Linked DNA regions of Homo sapiens: region 1 is linked to region 2. Evidence: promoter capture Hi-C in 16 types of primary human blood cells and fetal thymus (Javierre and others, 2016). All regions are on one chromosome and are shown on one strand. Each heading gives the region's core, a stretch centred on a gene start or on the middle of the fragment in contact. The rest is flanking DNA. Distances are from core to core; before and after follow the strand shown. Region 1 holds the start of ELOF1 (elongation factor 1). Region 2 holds the start of ZNF20 (zinc finger protein 20).

What was found. The method cuts DNA at HindIII sites, captures the fragments that hold promoters and counts their contacts. A CHiCAGO score of 5 or more calls a contact.
Region 1: the fragment with the promoter of ELOF1 here is called in contact with the fragment with the promoter of ZNF20 in region 2 in 2 of 17 cell types (total B cells and naive B cells); the score reaches 6.8 in total B cells.

The regions. Positions count from the first base shown.
Region 1 is chr19:11,556,810-11,563,538 of GRCh38, forward strand. ELOF1 (elongation factor 1) reads right to left here and starts at 2,421. Exons shown (of 4, transcript NM_032377.4): 1 at 2,382-2,421. RefSeq lists an enhancer at 3,745-4,039. The HindIII fragment of the contact is 542 bases long and covers 2,161-2,702 here.
Region 2 is chr19:12,134,782-12,142,204 of GRCh38, forward strand. ZNF20 (zinc finger protein 20) reads right to left here and starts at 5,569. Exons shown (of 4, transcript NM_021143.4): 1 at 5,399-5,569; 2 at 988-1,123; 3 at 719-779. The coding sequence starts at 5,401. ZNF625-ZNF20 (ZNF625-ZNF20 readthrough (NMD candidate)) reads right to left here. Exons shown (of 8, transcript NR_037802.1): 5 at 5,399-5,544; 6 at 988-1,123; 7 at 719-779. RefSeq lists silencers at 3,338-3,440, 5,146-5,355. The HindIII fragment of the contact is 6,979 bases long and covers 1-6,127 here.

The sequences.
Region 1 (6,729 bases), core at 1,171-3,670, 580 kb before region 2:
GCTGGGACAACAGGTGTGCACCACCATGCCCAGCTTCGGCATGCCTCCTTTACTATGGAAGTAAGTTCCTGCAAAAACAATTTGTTCATTCTGCCCTGGCTCCCATCCCCTTTTCTTTGAGCAACATCAAATTTTCCAGCTCCACTGGATCACTCTCACACACTTGTTATTACCTCTCTCCTCATTTAAAAAGGGGGAAAAAAAAACTCTTCATCCTCTTCCAGCTATGATCCTTTTCTCTGCAGGCTGTTTTAGTGTACAGCCATCTGCATTCCCACCCATCTCTCTGCACCCCTTGCCTCCAAACTTAGGTTACTGGTGGCTCCATACTGCAAATCCCAATGGCAGTCCTCCCATTCCAGAGGTCCTTCCTCCCCTGAGAGCACATGTGGCTCTCAGGATGCCATGTGCTCCCTGTCCTCTGCCTCACTGGTGGCTCCTGCTAGTCTCCTATGCTCCTGCCTCTCTGCCAACTTGCTCCAATGAAGAGAGCACGTGAGTTTGGGCCAGGCGCTGTGGCTCACGTTTATAATCCCAGCACTTTGGGAGGCCAAGGTGGGCAGATCACTTGAGGTTAGGAGTTGGAGACCAGCCTGGCCAACATGGTGAAACCCCATTTCTACTAAAAATACAAAAATTAGCTGGGCGTGGTGGCACATGCCTGTAATCCCAGCTAATAGAGAGGCTGAGGCAGGAGAATCGCTTGAACCTGGGAGTCGGAGGTTTCAGTGAGCTGAGATTGTGCCACCGCACTCCAGCCTGGGCAACAGAGCAAAACTTCATCTAAAAAAAAAAAAAAAAAAGGCTGAGTGCAGTGGTTCACGCCTGTAATCCCAGCACTTTGGGAGGCCGAGGTGGGCAGATCACGAGGTCAGGAGTTCGAGACCAGCCTGACCAACATGGTGAAACCCCATCTCTACTAAAAATACAAAAATTAGCCAGGCATGGTGGTGCACGCCTGTAATCCCAGCTACTCGGGAGGCTGAGGCAGGAGAATCACTTGAACCTGGGAGGCGGAGGTTGCAGTGAGCCGAGGCACTCCAGCCTGGGCAACAGAGCAAAAAGCCCATGAGTTTAATTGTTGGATCCTCTCCTTTCTGGCTATACTCACCACATGAAGATTTCACCCAGTCTTAGGGCTTCATGCCTACTCTACACTGAGGCCACCTGCTTCTCCAGCCTTGAGTCTGAACTGCAGACTCTGATCTATCTGCCTCAGCCACACCTCCACCTGATGTCTAACTTCCACCTAAGATTAAACATATCATGTCCAAAACCAAGCCCCTGACATTGCAACCTGCTCTTCCAGTCTTCCTCATCTCAGCTAACAGCAATTCCATCTTTCCGGATAATCAAATCAGAAACCTTGGATTCATCCTCAATGTCTTTTTCCCTCACACATTCCTTATGCGATCCTCCCCCTGCCCCTCTACCTCTGAAATATAAATTAGCCGCGGCACCACGCCCAGCTAATTTTTGTATTTTTTGTAGAGACAGGGACCCACCATGTTGCCCAGCCTGGTCTGGAACTCCTGGGCTCAAGAGATACTCCCGCCTCGGCCTCCCAAAGTGCTGGCGTTACAAGCATGAGCCACCGTGCCCAGCAATAACCATTACTGAATAAATCACTCAATCAGTTTGCTTGTAACTCTATCACTTTGGGACGTCACGCCCGTAATCTCATCACTTTGGGAGGCCCAGGTGGGAAGATCGCTTGAAGCCAGGAGTTCCAGACCAGCCTGGGAAACAGAGTGAGACCCTTCATCTCTACAAAATTACAAAAATTAGCCTTGAGTCTGTAGTCCCAGCTACTCGGCAAGCTGAAGTGGGAAGCTTGCGCCCAGGAGGTCGAGGCTGCAATGAGCTATGATCGCGCCACTGCACTCCAGCCTCGGCGACACAGCAAGACTCACTCTCAAAAAAAAAAAAAAAAGTCCAAACAAAATCTACGGATGAGCCCCAGAAGCTCATTTTGCCCAGGGACTACAGTCTCCCCATCCCATGAATGGGGTCTGGCTTGCACAAGGAATGCAGAGGCCTCAGCCTGTCCTGTGACAACGTTAAGTCCAAGAGCGCCAAAAGGGGATGGCAGAGGAGTCATCCCCCGAATCTGCTGGTACCCAAGAGGTGGGGGGTTGGCTGTTCCTCCAGACTCACTAAAGCTTCGGCATCGCCTCCCGACGGCCGCCGGGAGGAGCCAGGCGTCCCGGTAGTCGCGCTTGGAAGGATGGGGTCGGGGGGAGTCAGTCTCCCCGACCGGCTTTCCCCCAAGCTCGAGGTCCCAGGAGCCTCCTCCAGGACCCCGTAAACGCACGGAGTAGAGGAACTTCCAGTCCTGCCCACCCCCAACGCCCACTCGCACGAGCCGCACCAGCACTCACCTTCTCCAGCTGCGAAAGCTCCGTTCACCCGGGAGATAGTGACTTCCGACTCCTGCCGGAAGCGGAAACCCCTCTCCTACTTTCAGGTCCCGGCCACCCCCATCCCGGACAGCCCAGCAAATAGGCCCTGCCTCCTTCGCCGCTCCTCTGAGCGCACGCGTACTCAAATAGCAGCGCTCCGACGGAGACGCAGTGCGCCTGCGCAAGAGCCGGTGCGTATTTGCCTGTACCTACGCGCGATGCCAGTACTTCTGGTCAGTTTCCAGGAGCGGCAAGTGAGGAATATGAAATAACCTTATGGCTGAATCAGGGTGAAGGGGAAGCTTGTAAGCATGGAAGACGCTCTACTCAAACTAAAAAGTTCAAGTTCTGATCCAGCAGATGAAGAGGGAGGCCTGAGAGGCTGCTGTTCTAACTCGCTCCCAGGTGACTTCCATGCTGCTGATCCGCAGACCACATTTTGAGTGCCCAGATTGTAGTAGATGAGGTTGAGTGGACAGGCTGGGGCCAGATTCCATGGAGCCTCGTGGGCCGTGTTAAGGATTTTTATTTTTTATTTTTGTTTTATTTTATTTTATTTTTTTGAGACGGAGTCTCACTTTGTCGCCCAGGCTGGAGTGCAGTGGCTCGATTTCGGCCCACTGCAACCTCCGCCTCCCAGGTTCAAGTGATTCTCCTACCTCAGCCTCCCGAGTAGCTGGGATTACAGGCGCCGGTCACCGCGCCCGGCTAATTTTTGTAGTTTTTTTTTTTTTTTTTTTTTTGAGTAGGGATGGGGTCTCACCATCTTGGCCAGGCTGGTCTTGAACTCCTGACCTCGTGATCCACCCGCCTCGGCCTCCCAAAGTGCTGGGATTACAGGCGCGATCCACCCGCCTCGGTCTCCCAAAGTGCTGGGATTACAGGCGTGAGCCACCGCGCCCGGCCAAGGACTTTTATTGGTTTTTATTTTTGGTTTTGTTTTTTTCTGAGACAGGGTTTCGCTCCGTCGCCCAGGCTGGAGTGCAGTGACGCCATATGGGCTCACTGCAACCTTAGCCTCCCGGGTTCAAGCGATCCTCCTGCCTCAGCCTCTTAAGTAGCTGTGATTACAGGTGCGCACTACCATGCCTGGCTAATTTTTGTATTTTTAGTAGAGATGGGGTTTCACCATGTTGGTCAGGCTGGTCTCGAACTCCTGACCTCAAGTGATCCATCCACCTCGGCCTCTCAAATTGTTGGGATTACAGGCATGAGCCACCACACCTGGCCTGAAAAAGATATTTCAAGATGGAGAGAGAGAGGGGTTAGCTGTGTCACGTGTCCCTGAGTTGAAGAAGATGAGGAAAGAGAATTGACAGTTGAGTTTGGCAAGGGTCTGGTCCCTGCGGACCTTGATAAGAGCTGTTGCATTAGAGTGTTCAGGAAGATAATTTGTAATGAAATGTATTTCGAATACAGATGCTCTTTGATTTACGATGGGGTTACATCCCGATAAACCTATCATAATCAAGTCAGGGGCTGTCTGTAGAGGGATCTCTAGGATATCCCCTAGGGGGCAGTGTTACCCTGGTAACCGTCAAGTGTAACCAGTAGAACTGCCCTCTTGTGAGACCCTTTTTCAGTGCTGGAGCAAACTAGAATACACACAGGATGGAATCATACTATACAGTTACCGTGCAACTTGCTATTTCCACTTAACCATCTATACACGTATACCTAACTTTTGTTTTTAGTAGCTACATGATTCATAGTGCAACTCTGCCATAGTATAATCAACGGTTATCCTACTGATGGACAATTCCTGGACTTTCCTGAGTTTTGCCACTGTGATGATGCAGTAAATGTCCCTGAATCAGTATCCTTAAGACTGGATCTTTAGTGAAGCATAGTTTTCAAAAAATGACATTTGTGAGTACAGTGTCTCACCCCAGTAACCCCAGCACTTTGGGAGGCCGAGGTGGGAGGACTGCTTGAGCCCAGGAGTTTGAGGCTAGCATGGGCAACATAGTGAAATCCTGTCTCTAAAAATAAAATAAAATAAAATAAAAAACAATAAATGATGGCCGGGTATGGTGGCTCACACCTGTAATCCCAGCACTTTTTTGTTTTTGCTTTTTTTTTTTTTTTTTTGAGACAGAGTCTTGCTCTGTGGCCCAGGCTGGAGTGCAGTGGCGTGATCTCGGCTCACTATAACCTCCACCTCCTGGATTCAAGCAATTCTCCTGCCTCAGCCTCCTGAGTACCTAGGATTACAGGTGTGCGCCAACATGCCTGGCTAATTTTTGTATTTTTAGTAAAGATGGGGTTTCACCATGTTGGCCAGGCTGGTCTTGAACTCCTGACCTCGTGATCTGCCTGCCTTGGCCTCCCAAAGTGCTGGGATTACAGGCGTGAGCCACGGCGCCTGGCCCATCCCAGCACTTTGGGAGGCCAAGACGGGTGGATAACCTGAGGTCAGGAGTTCAAGACTAGCCTGACCAACATGGTAAAACCTTGTCTCTACTAAAAATACAAAAATTAGCTGGGCATGGTGGCAGGCACCTGTAATCCCAGCTACTCAGGAGGCTGAGGCAGGAGAATCACTTGAACCCCGGGAGGCAGAGGTTGCAGTGAGCCGAGATCGCGCCACTGCACTCCAGCCTGGGCAACAAGAGTGAAACTCCATCTCAAAAAAAAAAAAAAAACAAAGACATTGAGTCACAGGATGTATATATCTTTCATTTTGTTCATGATTGCCACATTAGTTTTCTCTTTTTCTCTCCTTTCATCCCTTCCCTCTCTTACTTCCCTCCTTCCCAGCTTTGTTGGATGTAATTGACTGAACATGAACTGCTCATATTTAAACCATGCCTGGCCGAAATTGCATGTTTTGACATACAGGTATATCATTAAAACATGACCATAATCAAGACAATTATTTCCATCACCCTAAGAAATTTCCTCTTACCAGTAGCCGAGTGTGATGGCTCATGCCTGTAATCCTAGCACCTTGGGAGGCCGAGGTGTGCGAATCACGTGAAGACAGGAGTTTGAGACCAGCCTGGGCAACACGGTGAGACCCCTTGTAGTCTCCACTACAAATACAAAAATTAGCCAGACATAGTGGCACACGCCTGAAGTCCCAGCTACTAGCGAGGCTGAGGCTGGAGAATCACTTGAACCCGGGAGGCGGAGGCTGCAGTGAGCCAAGATTGTGCCACTGCACTCCAGCCTGGGTGACAGATCAAGACTCAGTCTTAAAAAAAAAAAAATAAGAAAAAAAAGAAATTTTTCTCTTGCCCTTTTGTGCTCTGTCCCCTACTCCAGCCCCTGGCCCTAACTGATTTGTTTTTGGTTCCTGTAACTTTGTCTTTTTCAGAAAGTCATATAAGCTGAATCATACAACGTGTAGCCTTTTGAGCTGGGCTTCTTTCCCCAGCATAAGATGTTTGAAACTCACTCATGTTCCCAGCATTTTGGGAGGCCAAGGCGGGTGGATTGCTTGAGGTCAGAAGTTCAAGACCAGCCTGGCCAACATGGTGAAACCCCATTTCTACTAAAAATACAAAAATTAGCTGGATGTGTTGGTGTGCGCCTGTAATCCCAGCTACTTGGGAGGCCAAGCCAGGAGAATCACTTGAAACCAGGAGGCGGAGGTTGCAGTGAGCCGAGATCACGCTATTGCACTCCAGCCTGGGCAACAGAGCCAGACTCTGTCTCAAAAAAAAAAAAAAAGAAAAAAAGGAACTCACTCGTGTTGTTGGATATGTCAGCAGTTTGTTTCTTTTTTGTTTTCTTTTGAGATGGGGTCTCACTCTGTCACCCAGACTGGAGTGCAGTGGCACCATCATGGTTCACTGTAGCCTCAACTTCCCAGGCTCCAGCAGTCCTCCCACCTCAGCTTCCCGAGTAGCGGGGATTACACCTGTGCACCACCACGCCCAGTTAATTTTTGTGTTTTTTGTAAAGACAAGGTTTTGCCATGTTGCCCAGGCTGGTCTCGAACTCCTGGACTCAAGCAATCCACCTGCCTTGGCCTTTCAAAGTGCTTGGATTATAGGCATGATTATTATTCAGTTGTATTCTGTTATATGAATGTCCCACACTTTGTTTATCTTTTCACCTGTTAGTGACCTGTTTTTTGCATTGTTGCCGGTTGTTGAACAATTATTAGAGCTGTTATGAACCATTTCTTTCATTTTGAGGGTGGCAGATGACACCACTCCAAAATATGCCACTTTGGCATATGGATTGTTTCAGCTAAGTGCACTTGAAAAACAGTAGGTGCAGGAAAAGCACTCTGACCTCCCTCTTTTCTCTGGAAAACGAGATAAACCCCCATATGGAAGATGCCCTCCCCATCCCAGGAAGAAAGTAAAATTCTTTT
Region 2 (7,423 bases), core at 4,319-6,818:
CTGGGTATATATATTTTTTTAAAATTAGTATTTCTATGGGGCTTTGTAATCCTATTTTCAAGTAAACTATTTTACAAATACTAAACATGTGCGTCTTTTTTTTTGAGTTGGGGTCTCAACTCACCCTGTTGTCCAAATTGGAGTGTAGTGGTACCAACATGGCTCACTGCAGCCTCAAACTCCTGGCCTCCAGCAATCCTTTGGTCTGAAAGCCCCAAAGGACTGGCATTTGGGGGTATGCGCAACAGTGCCCAGCCCAGCGTATGTTACATTTAAACATATGTTTTTAGGAAAACTTTCTATGAATACATAAATTTGATACTGGGCTTATTTCTTTTGCTTCTTTTTAACATTTTCTCACTTTTTTTTTTTTTTTGAGACGGAGTCTCGCTCTGTCACCCAGGCTGGAGTGCAGTGGTGCGATCTCGGCTCACTGCAAGCTCTGCCTCCCAGATTCAAGCAATTCTCCTGCCTCAGCCTCCCAAGTAGCTGGGACTACAGGCATGTGCCACCACGCCCAGCTAATTTTTTTGTATTTTTAGTAGAGACAGGGTTTCACCATATTGGCCGGGCTGGTCTCGAACTCCTGACCTTGGGATTCACCCACCTCGACCTCCCAAAGTGCTGGGATTACAGGCGTGAGCCACTGTACCCGGCCTATTTTCTCACATTTTAAGATTTTCTAGAGGCATTGCCTTGTCTTGCGAGAGAAAATTACCTTAGATTTCTCCTGGGATTTTTGTACTCATCTTCAATGTTCTGAACTTTCCATGTTTTTCCTAAAACACAGACCCGGAGAAAACACAGATCCAGAATTAGTATGAATTTATTTAAAAATCATTAGATTCTGTATTCATGGTACATGGTAGCCATGCCTGATTTATTCATCAAAGTATTTTTTGTCCATGTTCCAAATCAATGAACAGCATTGATGAGCTAGAAGCATTTGTTCTCTAATTCACTGGGAAGTAATATTGTCATTCTTACCTACAGAGGTCAGGTTCTTGAAGGTTTCCTGCATCACATCCCTGTAGAGATTCTTCTGGGAAGGATCCAGCAAAGCCCACTCCTCCTGGGTGAAGCTGACAGCCACATCCTCAAAGGCCACTGAATCCTGAAACATCTCACATATATAAAAGAGGACAGGTAAGACTAACAGCCCTGGAGGCCTATACTTTATTCCTAAGAAGTTCTCATGATACTGTGGACTCCAAACATTTATCCCATGACTTGGTCATCACACCTCTTACTTTCTGTCTATACTCACGTCCTCCCACAAACCAACCCTTTTTTTGTTAAGAGAGAGGGTCTTTGGCCAGTCGCGGTGGCTCACGCCTGTAATCCCAGCACTTTGGGAGGCTGAGGCAGGCAGATCACTTGAGGTCAGGAGTTTGAGACCAGCCTGGCCAACATGGAGAAACCCGTCCCTACTAAAAATATAAAAATCAGCCAGGCGTGGTGGTGGGTGCCTGTAGTCCCAGCTACTCGGGAGGCTGAGGTAGGAGAATTACTTGAACCCAGGAGGTAGAGGTTACAGTGGGCCGAGATCGCGTCACTGCACTCCGGCCTGGGCGACAAAGCAATACTCCATCTCAAAAAAATAATAATAAAATAAATAGGCCAGGCGCAGTGGCTCATGCCTATAATCCCAGCACTTTGGGAGGCCAAGGTGGGCGGATCACCTGAGGTCGGGAGTTCGAAACCAGCCTGACCAACATGGAGAAACCCTGTCTCTATTAAAAAAAAAAATACACAATTAGCTGGGCATGTTGGCACATGCCTGTAATCCCAGCTACTTGGGAGGCTGAGGCAGGAGAATCACTTGAACCCGGGAGGCAGAGATTGCGGTGAGCTGAGATTGCACCATTGCACTCCAGCCTGGGCAACAAGAGTGAAACTCCGTCTCGAAAAAATAAAATAAAATAAAATAAATAAAATCTATACTAATCAAGAGAAAATGGTATTAACAGATGGAAAGATAGACTAATGGAAAACAGCAGATTCTGAAAATAGTGAAACCACGACAAAGCAGGTATCACCAGCCAATTATGCAAGTGGTCCTCACTTACCAGAAGGAACAGGGACAGATGGTTACCTACAGGAGAACAAACAATCTTTGAAGCCCATCATCTCCATATGAATTAATTCTAGAGTTGCCTGTTACCGTGACTTCTTATGTTACCTTACCATGCATTTTCATTATGGGTTTCACTTTCTTATAACAGAAGAAACCCGTACTCAAGCCGTGTGTAGTGGCTCATGCCTGTAATCCCAGCACTTTGGGAGGCCAAGGCAGGCCAATCACTTCAGGTGAGGAGTTCAAGACCAGTCTGGCCAACATGGTGAAACTCCCTCTCTACTAAAAAACACAAAAATTAGCCGGGTGTGTGCGTGCCTGTAATCCCAGCTACTCGGGAGGCTGAGGCAGGAGAATCGCTTGAACTCGGGAAGCGGCGGTTGCAGTGAGCTGAGAGAGCGCCACTTCACTCCAGCCTGGGCGACAGAAAGAGACTGTCTCAGAAAAAAAAAAAAAAAAGAAGAAGAAGAAAGCTGCACTTGACCTCAACAGTTTCCAGTTATCCACCTCCTCCCAGTTCCTGCATGTGCTCAACCCACATATGTGACTTACACAGCTGCCTCCTGGTGACGACCTCACTGTGGAAAAGCTAGACAGACCAACTTGACTTGCCCCACTGACCCTTATACCCACGTGGATGGCACAGACCACCTGTTAATCACAGCCTGACTTCACAGAACTAGCACCTGCTTGCTCCAAATCTATCAGAAACAACTCCCTAAGAGAAACCTCCTTGGGCATTGCCCTGGACCCCAAGAAAAACTCTGGCCCAAAAGTCCCTGTCTGTCTTTCTCCCCACCTGCTGGTTGAATGTGCATCCTGGATGTTCCCCCCACTCTGTGTTGCCCTGCAAGGTGTGCTGCCCTCATCTGTCTGGGATGTGATAATGCACTGTTATGTCATGGCTTTATGGCTTTGTTGAGATGACTCTGCTGTGGCTCACTTCACCTACACCTTTCCCTTAATAGCAACATCCAACTGGCTGACCAGCTATGTGTCTCCAAATAATGGAAGCTGGGACTGGGGGAGAAAAACTGAGCATCCCAAGGGGTTGGCTATCTAGATGAAGAGTGTACCAGGAGTCTCCTCCCATTTGGGAAATTCAGTTGCTCCTTTGGGAGATCCCACACCCTGCCTCAGGCTATCCTCTGGGAGGACTGACACAGGGGCTGATATTCAGTAGGCCAGGAGAGATGGGAGCTGTGGGCATTTTGGTTCAGCCCCAGGCGGTTCTGAAACCCAGGACCAGGAAAAGATAGATTGGGACTCCTGAAGACACATCACCCTGTAAAGTTTTCAAAAAGGAAACAGGCCAGGCACGGTGGCTCACGCCTGTAAAATTCCAGCACTTTGGGAGGCTGAGGCAGGCAGATCATTTGAGCTCAGGAGTTCGAGACCAGCCTGACCAACATGGTGAAACCCCATCTCTACTTAAAATACATGGGGTATGGTGGCGCATACCTGTAAACCCAGCTACTCGGGAGACTGAGGGCAGGAGAATCACCTGAACCTGGGAGGCGGAGGTTGCAGTGAGCCAAGACCACGCCACTTCAATTCAGCCTGGGTTACAAAGAGAGACTTTCTCTCAAAAAAAAAAAAAAAAAAGGAAACAACCCAAAGACATTCTGAGATGGTGTCTGTGCCTTACGAAGATAAGAGGAGAGGAACAGAGGTTTTTCACTGGAGTATCAAGTGGTTATTCTCTATTCTATGTGAAATGTTCAGAAACAGAACACAAATATTTTAAAAAAAGTTATCCATGACCTTGTGAAAAGATGATAAACCACTAAAATACTGCATCTATGTGAAAGAAAGGATGAAGAAATATACTCTACAATAAAGAAAGTTGATACAGGAGGCTGAGGCAGGAGAATCACTTGAACCCGGGAGGCAGAGGTTGCAATGAGCCAAGATCATGCCATTGCATTCCAGCCTGGGCAACAAGAGCGAAACTCCGTCTCAAAAAAAAAAGAAAGTTGATAATACTGTGAGTTGGAGAAGGGGAGTTAATGTTTGGAGATGCGGAAAAGTAATTGAAAATTTAAGATGTTACTGCAAACTGCTGAAGAGTTAGGGCGGGGTAGCAGGGTGGAGGATTTGAGACCCATACATTAGGAAAATGCAGGAGGAAGCCAGTCCCTATAGACAGTGTGAAAAAATTTAAAGCAGCAGCAATTAGACTGAAGTGTGTTTAGTGCTATAAGAAACTACCTAAGGACACCAAAATCAAACTCAAATTGAGGCAGGAAAATAGGGTCTGGACGCAGGGAACATAAGGCCTATTCAAACTTCAGCTATGAAAGGAAATACCTACTCCATAGGGCGTAAGCCAAGTAAATGATTTTATAACCTTACTTCATCCTCTCCTTTTACATAGAGTATACCCCAAGTAACCAATGGAATCCTCCAGGGGGTATTTAAACTCCCAAAAATTCTGTAACGGGGCCTTTGAGCCCCTGTGCTCAGCCCCGCTTGCACACTGTGGAGTGTTAAATCCCTTCATTCCTTCCTTGCTTTGTGCGTTTTGTCCAATTCTTTGTTCAAGACGCCAAGAACCTGGACCCCCTCCACCGTTAACAAAATGCAATTCTTCTTAAAACTTTCTGGTACCAAAACCACAAATCATGACTGGGCGTTTCTCACTCATGAATCGCTGTTTGCTCAAACTCTTTAAATTTTTTTTTTTTTTTGAGATGGAATCTCGCTCTGTCCCCTAGGTTGGAGTGCAGTGGCGTGATCTCGGCTCACTGCAACCTTCGTCTCCTGGGGTCATGCGATTCTCCTGCTTCAGCCTCCTGAGTAGCGGGGACTACAGGCGCATGCCACCATGCCCGGCTAATTTTTTGTATTTTTAGTAGAGACGGGGTTTCACTGTGTTAGCCTGGATGGTCTCGATCTCCTGACTTCGTGATCCGCAAGCCTCGGCCTCCCAAAGTGCTGGGATTACAAGCATGGTCCACCGCGCCCGGCCCAAACTCTTTAACAGAAAAAAAAATCCGCAGGATTCCCCCATGACCCTCCCGTGGTCCCCGCAAAATCTGAAGAGACGCGGGGCTGCAGGCGCGGAGCTGCCCAGAGAGGGCTCCAGGGTCGGGGCCCACAGTCGCCCGCGCAGGAACAGAACAGGAGGACGCCCGGGGTCCCGGCTGCCGGCCCAGCCGCACCCTGCGGCCGAGGGGACGCAGGGACGAGCTGAGACAGAGGGATTCGGGTCCCAGATCCAGGAGGCGCGGCGAGGAGGCCCAGATCCCACCACAGCCGCTTCCGGCCGGTTCCACCCAGCCCCTCCCCCGTCTGGGGACTCCGGCCCCATACACTCACCATTTCCCGGCTTCTGGGTGTCCCGGTGTCCTCTCTAGGGCTCCCGTGAATAGTGCGGGTCACGGTGCAGGCGGCAGAGCGACAGAAGTTGTGGCAGAGGGACCCGGGGCCTCTCGGAGTAGGAAATCTGGTATCCCGACAACAACCTGCATAGCAACAAAAGTAGAAGCTGGAATGGGCCTCCTCCTTCCGGACGGACCGTTGGCCGGGCTCCGCCCCGGCGCTTCTGATTGGACAAGGTACAAGGCCCCGCCCCCTCAGAACTGAGTGACGGCAGAAGCCCTGGGTAACGAGCCCTGCAAAGCCGGACTGATCGGTTCTAGCCACAGCTTCTCTCTAAGGGACAACTCCTTCCCTGAGCCCTGGTCATTGGATATTTTCTTTTCAGCCAAATTTGCTCCTGATTTTTACACAGGGCACTATCTTCTTCCTCATTCAATGGGCTGTCAGTGCTTCTTCGTCCTGCACAGGGTTGTAAGTGTGTGCAGGGAATTCCAGACTGAGTGTCCAATGGAGCGATGTGCTGACCTCAGAGCAGGAAGGGGAGCCCAGATCAGGCCAGGCACGACTGCACCAAGAAGGAGAGGCAGTTGTCCTTCAGGGGCCCGGAATTAGGGATGAGACATGGCCAAGGCTTTCACACATCTCACCCCACCTCACAGTGTGGAAACTCTCCCTCCTTCCAGACCTTCATCTTCATCGGCAGAAAACTCTCACTTGGTGATTTTAAGCTTCTGACCTAAATAAACTGTCAACTGCATAAGCCCCTTCTCCAGGAGAGGTCCCAAACAGTTATTTCCCTGAACTTGATCTTTACGGATTTTCTTCAGATATGCAAATTACAGTCTGACCCCAGGGACTCTATGCATGTCAAACCCAAAACACTGCTCCCGAAAACCGCCCCAGATTCCAGATGTACAGCCGCAGAAAGGACAGAACTCCTGAAGTGCACCTGCACGTGGGTCTCCTGCTTTCCAGGGCGCTGCAGCATGTCAGAACCCACACTCTTTCTGGATCTGCTCTGAGCAGCTGCAAGCCACCTGCAGGGGAGGGCGGCTGCCCAGGAAGCACCCAGAACTCCACTTCACTCCTTGGCAGGATCCATACTAGCCTCAGCGTCCCGTCCCTGGCGTCGGTCTCTGCTGCCCCCTGCAGGTTATTCACCTGCTTCTCACATCATTCATCAGTTTCCATGAGACAAACATCCTCAATCCCACTGCGAGAATAACACACGAGCAAAGCTCTCCTCCAGTGTGTATGTATAAAGTCGAGGAGGAAGTGTCCAAGATTATTTAACTGCATGAAAGTGAGGCAGTAGTGGCTGGGCGCTGTGGCTCAAGCCTGTAATCCCAGCACTTTGGGAGGGCGAGGTGGCTGGATCACCTGAGATCAGGAGTTGGAGACCAGCGTGACCAACATGGTGAAATCCCGTCTCTACTAAAAATACAAAAATTAGCCGGGTGTGGTAGAGCCCACCTGTAATCCCAGCTACTCGGGAGACTGAGGCAGAAGAATCGTTTGTATCAAAGAGGCTGAGGTTGCAGAGAGCCGAGATTGCACCACTGCACTACAGCCTGGGCAATAGAGCGAGACTCTGTCTCAAAACAAAACAAAAAAACACACAAATGTTTAGTCATGTTACTTATTTCTGGTTTCCAGCCTGACTTTATAACATTCCTGACTCTGGGACTCTCCAGCTCTCCAGAATTATGCTTTGAAGAAAAAACAAGATAGAGCACAGGGCCCACATGTCTCTTATAAACTGTGAACCAAAATATTACATAGCAGCCATCTGTCAGAACTGCTTCCAGGCTATTGTCCTCAGTCACAATCCTAAATCAAACTCACTTTCTTTAACAAATTTAATTTTTTTTCTTCAGTCCACATGAGTAATCTAAAAGAAACACATAGACAGAAGAATCTCTTTATTATCATCTTTCTACCAAGTCAACATCAAGCATTAAAAAAATGTAAAACAAAGTGAAAACCATCCTTCTCTGATTCATCGTAGACCCAGAATCTGCC